2 separate regions of the Homo sapiens genome follow, and region 1 is linked to region 2. The links are contacts of gene promoters, found by promoter capture Hi-C in human tissues and cell types (Jung and others, 2019). All regions are on one chromosome and are shown on one strand. The core of a region is centred on a gene start or on the middle of the fragment in contact, and the rest is flanking DNA. Distances in the headings are between cores, read along the strand shown.

The links. Contacts are between HindIII fragments. The study calls those that stand out against the background at their distance.
Region 1: a fragment that was not itself captured here is called in contact with the fragment with the promoter of SLC26A3 in region 2 in 1 of the 25 tissues and cell types used here (dorsolateral prefrontal cortex).

The regions. Positions count from the first base shown.
Region 1 is chr7:106,817,684-106,824,796 of GRCh38, forward strand. LINC02577 (long intergenic non-protein coding RNA 2577) reads left to right here. Exons shown (of 5, transcript NR_170304.1): 2 at 5,381-5,498. Among named protein-coding and RNA genes, the nearest start is that of PIK3CG, 44 kb to the right of the region's middle. The HindIII fragment of the contact is 7,636 bases long and covers 1,590-7,113 here.
Region 2 is chr7:107,801,402-107,808,387 of GRCh38, forward strand. It overlaps SLC26A3 (solute carrier family 26 member 3), which reads right to left and starts at 1,822. Exons shown (of 21, transcript NM_000111.3): 1 at 1,710-1,822. The HindIII fragment of the contact is 6,982 bases long and covers 1-6,982 here.

The DNA of each region.
Region 1 (7,113 bases), core at 4,158-6,657, 980 kb before region 2:
TTCACCCCAAAATATACCTTCTTGACAAAAATATCTTTAAGCCAGAGGCAACTGGAAAGCAACAGTTGCAGAAAGAGCCATCTGAGCTGCTCTTTCTTACCTTTGGCAGGCCATAAAATTCCAGGGAAAAGGATACAGGGGGTCTTCTGCCTCCCCTTTCTACCTAAAGACAGAGATATTAATTCTCTCTTGCTTATCAGCTCACTGGTACCGGCAGGGCCAGAGGATTCTGGGAACAAACTTGACTATTGTCTCATAGTTTTCTCATCTTTTGGGAAAAGTTGCTTATTCCTTTGTCTTGTTGTTTCTAAATTTATTGTTCTTTATTAGATATGCTATCTAAGCTGGGACCCTAAGCCACCATCTGAGAGACACTTTTGAACTGATATTTCCCCTGCATAATGCACACTGCATGCTTAAATTAAAATGCTTGGTTTCGCCAGGCGCGGTGGCTCACACCTGTAATCCCACCACCTTGGGAGGCCGAGGCGGGTGCATCATTTGAGGTCAGGAATTCAAGACCAGCCTAGCCAACATGGTAAGACCCCCGTCTCTACCAAAAACAAACAAACAAACAATAAATAAATATACATATATATATATATAAAAATTAGCCAGGCGTAGTGGCACATACCTGTAATCCCAGCTACTTGAGAGGCTGAGGCAATAGAATCACTTGAACCCAGGAGACGGACGCTGCAGTGAACTGAGATATCACCACTGCAGTCCAGCCTGGGTGACAGAGGAAGACTCCATCTCAAAAAAAAAAAAACGAAGCCTGAGCGTGGTGACTCACGCCTGTAATCCCAGCACTTTGGAAGGCCGAGGCAGGTGGATCACCTGAGCTCAGGAGTTCAAGACCAGCCTGACCAATATGGTTAAACCCCGTCTCTACTAAAAATACAAAAATTAGCCAGGTGTGGTGGGAGGGCGCCTGTAGTCCCAGCTACTTGGGAGGCTGAGGCAGGAGAACTGCTTGAACCCGGGAGATGGAGGTTGCAGTGAGCCGAAATTGCACCACTGCACTCCAGCCTGGGAAACAGAGTGAGACTCCATCTCAAAAAATAAATAAATAAATAAAAATGCTTGTTTTTCTCTTATCCATCTTTTGTGACAAAAGTATCCCATCTACGAACTTATGAGGGTTGAGAAAAGAAATTATATTTTCTCCTCTTCACCTGAAACTTGGATCAAAAGATGACTCATGAGGCCAAGCTGGAGATCCCCCATCTCCCTTGGGTTAATGTAGAGGAAAGGATTAAAAGGAGATTGGAATGCTAGAATGGATTTGTCACTTAAAACCTACTAACCCACACTGGGAGGGTCCAGAAGTCATAACTTTCACCAAATACTTTGAGAAATAGATGTGTGGGGGAGCCCCAGCATCCCTGAACAGTGCTATGATTGTGCTTTTCTGTAGGTTGGACCTTAGAGTGGAGACCTGGATAGAGCACCCTTGACATAGCTAATTCTATCTTAGAAAAAGGCTTCATTTTATATTTCACAGGGCACTTTGCATACAAGGATAAGATGTTTTGTTTAATAAACAAATAAAAAATAAAGACCACATCCAGTGAGATAAAGACACAAAAAAGCACACCCTTCCACCGTCAGTTCTCATCATCAGAAGACTCTATGACTGTAAAAGATCAGGCCTTCAGCAGCTCCAAATGGCTGCCTTAATGACACTGTCTTGCAGTCACTTACAATAAGAACTTGGTGTCTGCAGCCAAAAGCTCTGCCACCTCAAGGACTTGCAAGGCTGACAGACCATCTGGCTCAAACCAGGATTCCTTTTGTCTTCTTAGCCCTCCCTGGACTGGCTTATTAACACTTTCTCCTGTACTTTTTCCTCTTGATTTTAAATGTGACTTTGTTATGGAATGTTTAACCTGTAACATTTATATATTGATTAAGTATACTATTATGTATGGTTTGCAATATTGATTGACTTGTGGAATGTCTTGAGCCTGTGTGCCTGAAGCTCTGACCACTGAGTAAGCAGGAAGTACTAAAGGGGATTGTTTCCTTGGGAACTCCATGCAGCTTCTGGCTTTTGTGATTGGAACAGTATCAACAAAAGCCTGACAGTGTGGAAAGACACAACCACACATGGACCTGGTTATTTCTAACCTTGCACCAATCATGACAGAATTGCAGTCACTCAATTGGAAAACTTAAATGCAATGGGTATCATTGAAACCTGGTGTGGCAGGGGCTAAGTGGTGGCACTCATCTATCAAAGGCAAGGTGTGTATAGTTACCATCTTAGACAGCTGAGGCACAGCAACAATCAGAATAGTGTGACTTGTGTAAATCCAGGGTGTTGGCTAGCTAACCATGGTGTTCCTAAAAGTAAAATAGATAGGAAGCCTACTAAGTTCTTACTTGATCTGTATAAACAGAAAACTATCAGGTCAAGTGAACAAAGGTTTAATTTGAAACATAAAAACAGAGAATCATTCCCTCTCAATCAATTCCTAGACTTGAGCCAGTTCACAGACCCAGAAATACTTGAATGAAGGGGAGGCCAGGTTCTGTCCAGGAAGTACCCTGGTACACTACTGAAAATTTACACTATTAAACTTTCTCCCATCCTTCCCCAAAGGGACCTACGGCCTTTTACCAGCATAACTGTGCACTGGGGAAAAGGAAGTACAGATCTTTCAGGACTACTGAACACTGCCTCTGAATTGACATTGATTCCAGGAGACCCAAAAAGTCACTGCGGCCCACAAGTCACAGCAAGGGCTTATAGAGGTTAGGTTAGCAATGGAGCTTTGGCTCAGGTCTGACTCACAATAGGTCTGGTGGGTCTGTGAACCCATCATGTGGTTATTTCCTCAGTTCCAGAATGTATGATTGGAACAGACGTTCTTGCCAGCTGGCAGAATCCCCATATTCCTTAACCTGTGGAATGAGGGCTATTATGGTGAGAAAGGCCAAATCAAAGCCATTAGAGCTGCCCCTACCTAGGAAAATAGTAAATCAAAATCCATTGATTGCGTCCCTGAAGGGATTGCAGAGATTAGTGCCACCATCAAGGACATGAAAGATGCAGGGGTGGAGATTCCTACCACATCCCCATTCAACTTTTCTATCTGGTCTGTGCAGAAGACAGAAGACAAATGGACTCTGGAGAATGACAGTGAATTATTGTAGTTTTAACCCAGTGATGACTCCAATTGCAGCTGCTATACGAGATGTGGTTTCATTGTTTAAGCAAATTAACACAACTCCTGGTACCTGGTATATAGCTGTTGATGTGGAGAATGGCTTTTTCTCCAACCCTGTCCATAAGGCCCACCAGAAGCAGTTTGCTTTCATCTGGCAAGGTCAGCAATACACCTTTACTGTCCTACCTCAGAATTATATCAACTATCCATCTCTATGTCACAATTTAGTTCACTGGGATCTTGATCACCTTTCCCATCCACAAGATATCATTCTGGCCCATTATATTATGCTGATTGGACCTAGTGAGCATGAAGTAGCAAGCACTCTGGACTTACTGGTGAGGCATTTTGTGTGTCAGAGGGTGGAAAATAAATCCAACCAAACTTCAGGGCCTTCTAGCTCCATGAAATTTCTATGGGTCCAGCAGTGTGCGGCATGTTGAGATATCCCTTCCAAGGTGATGAATAAGGTGTTCCATCTGGCCCCTCCTACAACCAAGAAAGAGGCACCATACCTAGTAGGCCTCTTTGGATTTTGAAGGCAACGTGTTCCTCCTTTTGGTGTGTTACTCTAGCCCATCTACCAAGTGACCTGGAAAGCTGCTAGTTTTGAATGGGGCCCAGAACAGGATAAGGCAGAGGCAACAGGTCCAGGCTGCTGTGCAAGCTACTCTGCCATTTGGGCCATATGACCCAGCAGATCCAATGGTGCTGGAGGGGTCAGTGGCAGATAAGGATGCTGTTTGAAGCCTTTCATTGGTCCCCATAGATAAATTGCAGCAAAGGCCCTTAGGATTTTGGGAGCAAGGCCTTGCCATCATCCACAAATAATGACCCTTCTTTTGAGAGGCAGTCTTGGCCTGCTACTAGGCCTTAGTAGAAACTGAACATTTGACCATGGGCCACCAAGTAACTATGCAACCTGAGCTGACCATCATTAACTAGGTGTTAACTGACCCACCAAGCCATAACGTTGGGCATACACAGCAGCCCTCTATCATCAAATGGAAGTGATATACACATAACTGGGCCCAAGCAGGTTCTGAAGCACAAGTAAGTTACACAAAGTGACCCAAATGCCCCTGGTTCCAACTACACTGCCTCAGCCTGCACCAATGGCCCCATGGGGAGTATCCTATGATCAATTGATAGAGGTCCCAGTTTACAGGTGGTTCTGCATAATATGCAGGCACCATCCAAAAGTGGACAGTTTCAGCAATACCATCCCTTTGTGGGACATCTTTAGAGGATAGCGGTGAAGAGAAATCTCAGTGTGTAGAACTTTGGACAGTGCACCACGTTGTACACTTTGCTTGGATGGAGAAATGGCCAGATGTGGAATTATATACCAATTCATGAACTGTAACCAATGGTTTGGCCAGATGGTCAGAGAATTGAAAGAAACATAATTGGAAAATTGGTGACAAAGAAATTTGGGGAAGAGATATGTGGATGGACCTGAGTGGGAAAAAGATGTGAAGATGATTATGTCCTTTGCCAATGCTCACCAAAGTGTGATCTCAGCAGAGGAGGACTAATAATCAAGGAGATGGGATGACCCATTCTGTGGATACTAGTCACCCTCTTTCCCCAGCTACCCCTACCATCATCCAATGGACTCAAGAATAAATTGCCCAGCGTGGCAGAGATGGAAGTCATGTATGAGTTCAGCAACATAGACCTCCACTTAGCAAAGCTGACCTGGCTACAGTCACCTCTGAGGGCTCAATCTGCCAGCAGCCAAGACCCACACTGAGCCCTTGATACAGTATCATTGGCTTCGGTGGATCAGCCAGCTACCTTGTGGCAGGTTGATTACTCCAATCTCTGGAAACACCCTGACATACCCAGAAATAATGCTTTACCACTTCTCCAGGTATTCCTCAATCCAGTCAACATGACACCTAAAATTAATGATGACAAGTCCACCTCTTGTCTGTACTTAATCTACACACCTACACACCTCTCTGTAAACTGAACTTAATCTCCAAGTAAAGACAATAACAAGGTAATAGACCCACCTAACCTGATACAATTATCCTGCATACAATAAAAAACTAATCCCTTACCCAGAAGATGGGGTAAAGTCCTTGAATGATATTTACTTGTCTCCTGATATTTCATAACTTAAATACTATGATGTAAAATTAACAATACTTAAATACTGATATAAAGTGAATATATCTTTTTTTTTTTTGAGACAGAGTCTTGCTGTGTTGCCCAGGCCAGAGTGCAATGGCATGATCTCAGCTAACTGCAACCTCCACTTCCTGAGTTCAAGTGATTCTCGTGCCTCAGCCTCCTGAGAAGCTGAGATTACAGGTACGTGCTACCACGCTAATTTTTTGTATTTTTAGTAGAGATGGGGTTCCATCACTTTGGCCAGGCTGGTCTCCAACTCCTGGCCTCAAGTGATCTGCCCACCTCAGCCTCCCGAAGTGCTGGAATAACAGGCGTGAGCCACTGTGCCAGGTCCCTAAAGTCAATATATCTTATGTTAAATGATTAAGAGAGGAATGAAAACAAAGATATTTGTTTAATATATGTGTGTATACACACACACGCACACACACACACACACACACAAATGTATTCTGAACAAAATACGGAGAAAATACTGATGACAATTACAGTCCTCATTTCTGTAACTGGTCACACAGTCATAACTGGTATTTATAACTACTTTCTTCCAATATCCATTCTGTATTCTCTTTGCCCTCAGCAAGCACCTCAGCTAGTCACGGTTCTTTACCTGGTGGGGTGAACCTTCATTTCTGAAGGGTCTGGGTCAATTGTAGTCCTGCTTGGATTAGGTTGTTGTAATTTTCCATTGACTTTAATCACAGAGTTTGGTGATACTAAGAGATGCCCTAAGGGATCTTCTGTATTCCAGACATACTCTCCCTTAACCCCAATGTGGAGTACTCATCCAGTTTCCCCTTGGTAGTCTGGATCAATTTCCCCAGCCAACACAGTAACTCCTTTGTTTGCCTGTTGACTCACAGGCATGAGGAGCCCAAAGTGACTGGGTGGCAGTCTTAACTTCCAGTTGAATGGAATCATTGTTGTGTCTCCTGGTGGCAGCACTCTTCTCTGATGCTAAGACTTGTAGGCCAGCAGAGCATAAAGTCACAGAAACAGGAAACAACATTTTTCTAGTGGGTCAATAGGGATAATGGCAAATGGTGCCACTCCCACTTCCATCATAGGATGGGCAACATTTCGTTCTTACCGGCACTTACTCTGGATATAGATTTGCCTTCCTTGTATGCAATGCTTCTGCCAAAACGACCATCTGTGGACTTACAGAATGTTTATCCATTATCTTGGCATTCCACACAGCATTGCTTCTGACCAAGGAACTCACTTCCCAACCAAAAATGTGCAGCAATGGGCTCATGCTCACGGAGTTCACTGACCTTACCAAGGTCCCCATTGTCCTGAAGCAACTGGCTTGATGAATGGCATTTTGAGTCACAGTTACAGCATCAACTAGGTGATAATACTTTACAGGGCTGGGATGAGGTTCTCCAGAAAGCTATATATCCTTTGAACCAGTGTCCAATATATGGTACTGTTTCTCTTATAGCCAAGATTCACAGTTCCAGGAATCAAGGGGTATAAATGGGAGTGGCACCACTCACCCTTATCCTTAGTGACCCAGTAGCAAAATGTTGTTTCCTGTTTCTGTGACTTTATGCTCTGCTGGCCTACAAGTCTTAGCATCAGAGAAGAGCGCTGCCATAGGAGACATAACGATGACTCCATTCAACTGGAAGTTAAGACTGCCACCCACTTTGGGCTTCTCATGCCTATGAGTCAACGGGCAAACAAGGGAGTTACTGTGGTGGCTGGGGAAATTGATCCAGACTACTAAGGGGAAACTGGATGAGTACTCCACATTGGGGTTTAGGGAGAGTATGTCTGGAATACGGAA
Region 2 (6,986 bases), core at 572-3,071:
ACACAAAACATGAGCCTGGTGGCCTGGGGACAAATCTCCTTGAGGTGACTTGCTTTATTCTTCCCCTTGCTTCTCAACAAAGTGACACAGAGGCTAGAGGAGCCTCTTCTCTTCTCTTTGGAGAATCAAAGACCTTTATTGTAGAGAAGCACCAGACTGTGTTATTACATATTTATTCTTGTAATTGAAAAATATTCATTCTCATTTTCTGAACGATTTTGTTTCTTAGTCGAATATGAGCTGTTTAGGAGGTATTAAACATTTGTTCATTTCTTTATATACTTACTTATTCCCTTATCCAGAGGGAGAAGGCAAAGTATGTATTGTGTTACCCCATTTTTCTTGTTTCTGAAATCAAATTAGTTGCTTCCTAAATTTTCATTAGGAATAATCCTTGGCCGGATGGGGTGGCACATGCCTGTAATCCTAGCACTTTGGGAGACTGAGGTGGGAGGATCACCTGAGGTCAGGAGTTCGAGACCAGCCTGGCCAACATGGCGAAACCCCGTCTCTACTGAAAATACAAAAAAAAAAAAAAAAAAATGCCAGGCACAGTGGAGCGTGCCTGTAGTATCAGCTACTTGGGGGGCTGAGGCAGGATAATCACTTGAACCTGGGAGGCAGAGGTTGCAGTGAGCAGAGATTGTGCCACTGCACTCCAGCCTGGGCGACAGAGTGAGAATCCGTCTCAGAAAAAAAAAAAAAAAAAGGAATGATCTTTATGCAGTCAAATTTCATGACACAGTTTTTCCAAATGACTAACTTACTTCAGAAAAGAGAATTATTTAGTCCAATAATTTGATAAATTGTTCCTCACTTGCATATATAAAGAAAGTTGTATAATCTTTTCCTGACATTTTAAAGAATAAAATAGATTTTATCTTGATAGAGTTAGTAATGTATGGGATAAGTACCCATACATTACTAATGTATTATATTATATTATACTACTTGTGGCATAGGGCATTCTGCTACTTTCCAGTGACCATTTTCTCCCCATCTCTCTTCTCTTTCCAGTCTCTATCCTTCTTACTCTCATTGCCTTTTCTTCTCTCCGTGTTTCCCTTAGTCTTGGACTTTCTAGGATGTCTAGCAGATAAATCTCTCACTTCTAGACCATATGTCCCCTACCCCCTCCCTTTTTTTTTAAGAGACAAGGTCTTGCCATGTTGCCTAGGCTGACCTCAAACTCTTGGGCTAAGCTATCCTCCTGCTTTAGCCTCTTGAGTAGCTAGGACTATAGATACATATCCCTATGCCTGGCTGGGACCAGATGGCCTTTCTGAATCCTTTCTAGTAGGTGATTCTCTCTCCTGGAGAAACTCTTTCCTTAAAGCTTGCTTTTTTTTTTTTTTTTTTTGCCAACCCTCAGAGCAGACAATCTATCTATAAAGTCAGATTTGAGTGGAGAATTAAAGGAATTATCTGAATAATTAAAACAAGAACACTAATATCTTTGAAAAGGCTATTTAAGACTTAATGATGCCTACAACCATTTACTTGTTAAAGTCTACTTAAATATTTATTCTACATTGCTAGCGCTCCAGACATACATGCATATCTTATTAGTGGATTCATTCAAAATATTCACACACATGGAATAAACTCAAGAACATAATAACTCCTAAATAGGCTTTGATCAGAAAAAATACCATTTTCAAGGAACAGAAAACCAGTTTGAATATAACAATCATAAATTTGGTTCCTACCTGACACATACTCTGTGAGGAGCTTCTGCAACAGTGGTACATTTTCAAGATAAAGTTCTAAGTTCTAGTTCTAAGAGGCAGTGTCCATCCACTCAGGTCTACAGGCTCTGTGTGCATCCATATGCATAGGGATGTCTATATATAGGCTATGTAAGACAGTGGACAAATTACCTTTCTGTCAGCTTTAATAATTAACTCTCATTAACTTTTACAACAATGAAAAGACTGCAATGTGGTCTTGACCTTTGAGACTTTGATCAGCAGAAGTGATGATGAAGATTGCTTCCTCAAGTTCCTTGTGAGATTAAACCACCAGTGGGTGGTTTAATGCACTTGTGTGTACGTAATTTCATTGGTTTGCAGAGATTGCACAGCAGATGCTCACGTGTACTTAAAAAAAAAAAGAATCTTCTCAAGGGTTATCTCCTTGACATTTCACCAACCTGTTTAGATGAGAGTTTAGTGGTGGTGTTTTTTGGCTGGATGACTCCATGGAATCTGTCATGGGCTGCAGAAGTGTGGTGTATAGGTTAACTCCTGGTATGATAAAGGCCCTCATTAGGAACACTCACCCAACTCCCAGCCACAGGCCATATCTGCATTCCAATTTCTGCCCCCACCACAGCTCTTCCTAAGAGCAATAAACCCTATGTTGCTAAACACAATGAATACTTTCAACTCTCATCTTACTTAAAAGCATTTGGCATTGCTGACTACACTTTCATGAACTCCTCTTTTTATTTTAAAAATTATTTAACTAATTAGTTAATTTTAGAGATGGGGTATTGCTGTGTTGCCCGGGCTGGTCTCAAACTCCTGGCCTGAAGTGATCCTCCTGCTTTAACCTCCTGAGTAGCTGGGATTAGAGGCCTCAGCCATCATGCCGGGCTAAAATCTTCTCTTCTTGAAATGCTAAAAAAAAATTTTTAACACACTTGTTTTTCACCTCATCCTTTTTGCCAATTTCTCCTCTAACTCTTTCTTTGGCATTTCCTAAGATTCTGTTCTGAATTTCCTTCTCCTCTCTTGCTACCCTCTTACCCTAAATAAGAGTCCTATGGCTCCCAGCAACATTCAGATTTCTAACCCCAGCTCTCTAGGTCCACATATTTAACTGCCTATTCCACATCTTTGCTTGGATGCCTCATAGGCATCTCAAACACGACACATATCGAGATTAAGACCTCTTGATCTTTCCTCCCAAATCTGCTCCATCTCTAGTCTTCCCCATTTCAGTAAAGAATATTCCCCTTTACTCATGTCAGAGACCTGGGAACCATCTCTGACACTTCTTCTTGCAGACCTTCTCCCCACCCGCAGCCAATCCATCCTTAAACCCTATTGAGCATGCCTCCAAAATACATCCCAAAGCCATCACTTTTCTTCATCTTCACTCTTACCTTTGCTGCACTTCTTGCTTCCTCTCGCAGCCCTCCCCATCTCTTTACCACTCATTAATCAGAATGATCTTTTCACACTAGTCCTCTTTGTGGGGCTGATGATTACACAGAGGGAAAACAGGCCTCCAAAGTCTTTGCATGATCTCCCCCTGCACAACTCTCCAACCTCATCTGACTCTGCTCTTACTTTTGTTTTCTCCACTCCCACCATGGTGGCCTCCTGTAGTCCCAAATTTGCCCACTCTTTGCAGACATCATTTTCTCTGCTTAAATGCACTTCTCTCTCTCTCTCGGTTTGGCTGTTACTTAGCTTCAACATCACTTTCTCAAGGAGAACCACTTTGACTTCCTAATCTCAATTAGCCCCTCTTGTGGCATTCTCTCAGAGTATTTTTTTAAGTCCCTTGGTTAATTTGCATGTACTTTTTAAAACATAGCATCATAATTTAAAAATACACAATTATTTACTTGGCTAATGTTTGGCTTTCTCATTAGAATGAAAGCCCCACACAGGCAGGGACTTTGGCGAATTCACTGCTGTATGCCCAGTACCTAGAATGAATCTACCACAGAACAATGACTCAATAAATAGTGGTTCAATGACAGTTCAATCAATGAATTATGTTTGCTATAAGACAATTCCAAAAGAATGTGGACAGGTCATTAGCGTTTGTTAGAAATTAATCTAACCTGTGTTTTTAAATCTGGCTCACACCTGTGCTAACTGCGTAACTGAATGAGCTGTGGTGCCACTTATCATGCTTTTATCAACATTAGCTAACTTTAATTAGTGTTTAGTATGGGCTGTAACTTTGCAATGTGTTTTATTGGGTTTATCCCATTTAATCCTCATAACAACCATAGATAGCTTAGTATTTTTATTCCTATTTTACAAATGAATAGATTGAGTTTTCACTTGTGGTGAAATCTCAATTTTTAATTTTTATTGGCTTTTATTGAAGCCAGCTAGAATCCAGAAAGCCTAACTTTGTCATGTCTTTACTGTATAATACTGCTTTTTATAATTTTAACAGATGTACAGAATATTTATTCAGAACCACTATACACTGATTAAATTTTGTATTTAGATGTGGTTGATGGAAGAACTGGAAAATATTGCACTTAAAGGTAGAGGCTCAGAATTATTGATCAGCATAAAAATGATTTATTTTAGAACAAATAAGAGAGTATTGCAAGATTGATGGATACAAGCTGAACAAAGGCAAATTATTACACGATATATATTACATAGTGTATAGCCTTCCTATATACTAATAATAACCATGTAGTAAATGTAATAAAAAGAAAGATATCATTGGTAATAGCAACAAAAGCTACAAAGATTAGTAGAAATAAATCCTTTTTGTTTTTTATTTTTAAGAGACAAGGTCTGGTTCTGTCACTAAGGCTGGAGTATAGTGGCTCAATCATAGCTTTCCGAAACCTTGAACTCCTGGGCTCAAGTGATCCTCCTGCCTCAGCCTCCCAAGTAGCTTAGACTACAGGCACATGCCACCACACCTGGCTAATTTAATTTATTTATTTGTTTTGAGATGGAGTCTCACTCTGTTGCCCAGGCTGGGGTGCAGTGGCTCGATCTCAGCCCACTGCAACCTCTGCCTCCTGGGTTCAAGCGATTCTCCTGCCTCAGCCTCCTGAGTAGCTGGGATTACAGGCACGCACCACCACGCCTGGCTAATTTTTGTATTTTTAGTAGAAATGGGGGTTTCACCATGTTGGTCAGGCTGGTCTTGAACTCTTGATCTCGTGATCTGCCCGCCTCAGCCTCCCAAAGTGCTGGGATTACAGGAGTAAATTTTTTAATTTTAATTTTATTTTGTAGAGATGGGTTTTTTCTATGTTGTCTAGGCTGGTCTCCAACTCCTGGCCTCAAGCTATCCTGCTACCTCGACCTCCCAAAGTGCTGGGATTACAGGCGCAAGCCACTGTGCCTAGCTGGAGTAAATCTTATCTAAAGATATATAATGATGAACTTTATAGAGATAATTAGAAAACATTATTAAAGGACAAAAACAAAACCTAAGAAAAATATAGCCGGGTGCGGTGGCTCACGCCTGTAATCCCAGCATGTTGGCAGGCCGAGGTGGGCAGACCACGAGATCAGGAGATCGAGACCATCCTGGCTAACACGGTGAAACCCAGTCTCTACTAAAAAATACAAAAAATTAGCCGGGCGTGGTGGTGGCAGGCGCCTGTAGTCCCAGCTAAGCAGGAGGCTGAGGCAGGAGAATGGCGTGAACCCGGGAGGCGGAGCTTGCAGTGAGCCGAGATCGCACCTCTCCACTCCAGCCTGGGCGACAGAGCGAGACTCCGTCTCAAAAACAAAAAAAAAAAAAGAAAAAGAAAAAAAGAAAAATATGAAGCCATAAATCTTCATGAGTGTGAAAGTTCAATATCATATAGATGTTTTCTTCAAATTAATCTATTACATAAATGCTATTACAATGAAAAAGCTTTTCTTTTTTTTTTTTCATAGAACTGGACAAACTTGGCCTAAAACTTGTATGGAAGAACAAAGGGCCAAGAAAAGTCAAGACGTCAAGACAATTTTTGAAATTGATGCATAATAATTGTATATATTTATGGGATATATGTGATATTTTGATATATGCATACAATGTGTAATGATCAAATCAGGGTAATAATGATATCTATCACCTCAAACATTTATCATTTCTCTGTTTTGGGAACATTCCAAATTTTCTCTTCTAGCTATTTTGAACTATACAATAATTTATTGTTAACTACAGCCACCCTACTGTGTTATGAAACACTAGAACTTATCCCTTCCATCTAACTGCACGTTTGTATCCATTAATCAACAGCTCTCCATCCCCACTCCCTGCTACTTTTCCCAGCCTGTGGGTAGCCATCTTTCTACTTTCTCTCTCTATGAGATCCACTTTTTTGGCTCCCACGTATTAGTGAGAACATGCAACATTTGTTGACAACTTTGAAGAAGAAAAAATGGGGAAACATTTTGCAGATATAAAGACTTATTATCAAGCTATAGTAATTATGGCAGTTATATGTTTGTGCTGTGGGAAATAAATATACCAATGGAACAGGACAGAAAGCCTAGAAACATGTATTGAAACTTGATATATAATAGAGGTTACGTGGCATTAGAGAAAAGATGGACTATTCAATAAATGGTGCTGAGACAACTGGCTATCCATGTAGAACAAATAAAATTTAGATCTCTATTTCACAGCAATCACACACACATTTTTTCAATTGACCAAAGGCCTAAATAGAAAAGGTAAAATTTTAAACTTTTAGAAGAAAAAGTATGCTGTTATAACCTTGGAATAAAAGTATTTCTTCAACAAGTCACATAAATGTGCATATCATAAAGGAAACGACTGACAAATCCATCTTTATTAAAATTAAAACATGGAAGACACCACAACAAAAGTGAAGACAAGCTCTAGACTGAACAAGGTATTTGCCCAGTTAAGTCTTAGAAAAGATTAATATCCAGAAGATATCAAGAACTCCTACAAATCAATAAACAAAAGGCAAAATTCACAGAAAACCTGAAGTGCCAATTAACATATGAAAATATGTTCAAGTTCACTAGTAATCAGGGAAAAGTAAGTACAACCATATACATTTCACATCCATCATTAGCAGGGCTGTAACTAGCTTCAGTGGAGCATGAAGATTATGCAATTTGTGGATGTCGTTTTAAGAAAAAGATTACAAATTTTCACATATAAAATTAACTACAGGGCCTTTGAAGGGGCCCATGCAAATGAAAGGTCCTGAAGCCTAAACCGCATTTGCTTTATGGTAAATCTGCTTTTGTCTATCAGATGGTAAAAATGAAATGCCTGAAAATACCAAGTGTCAC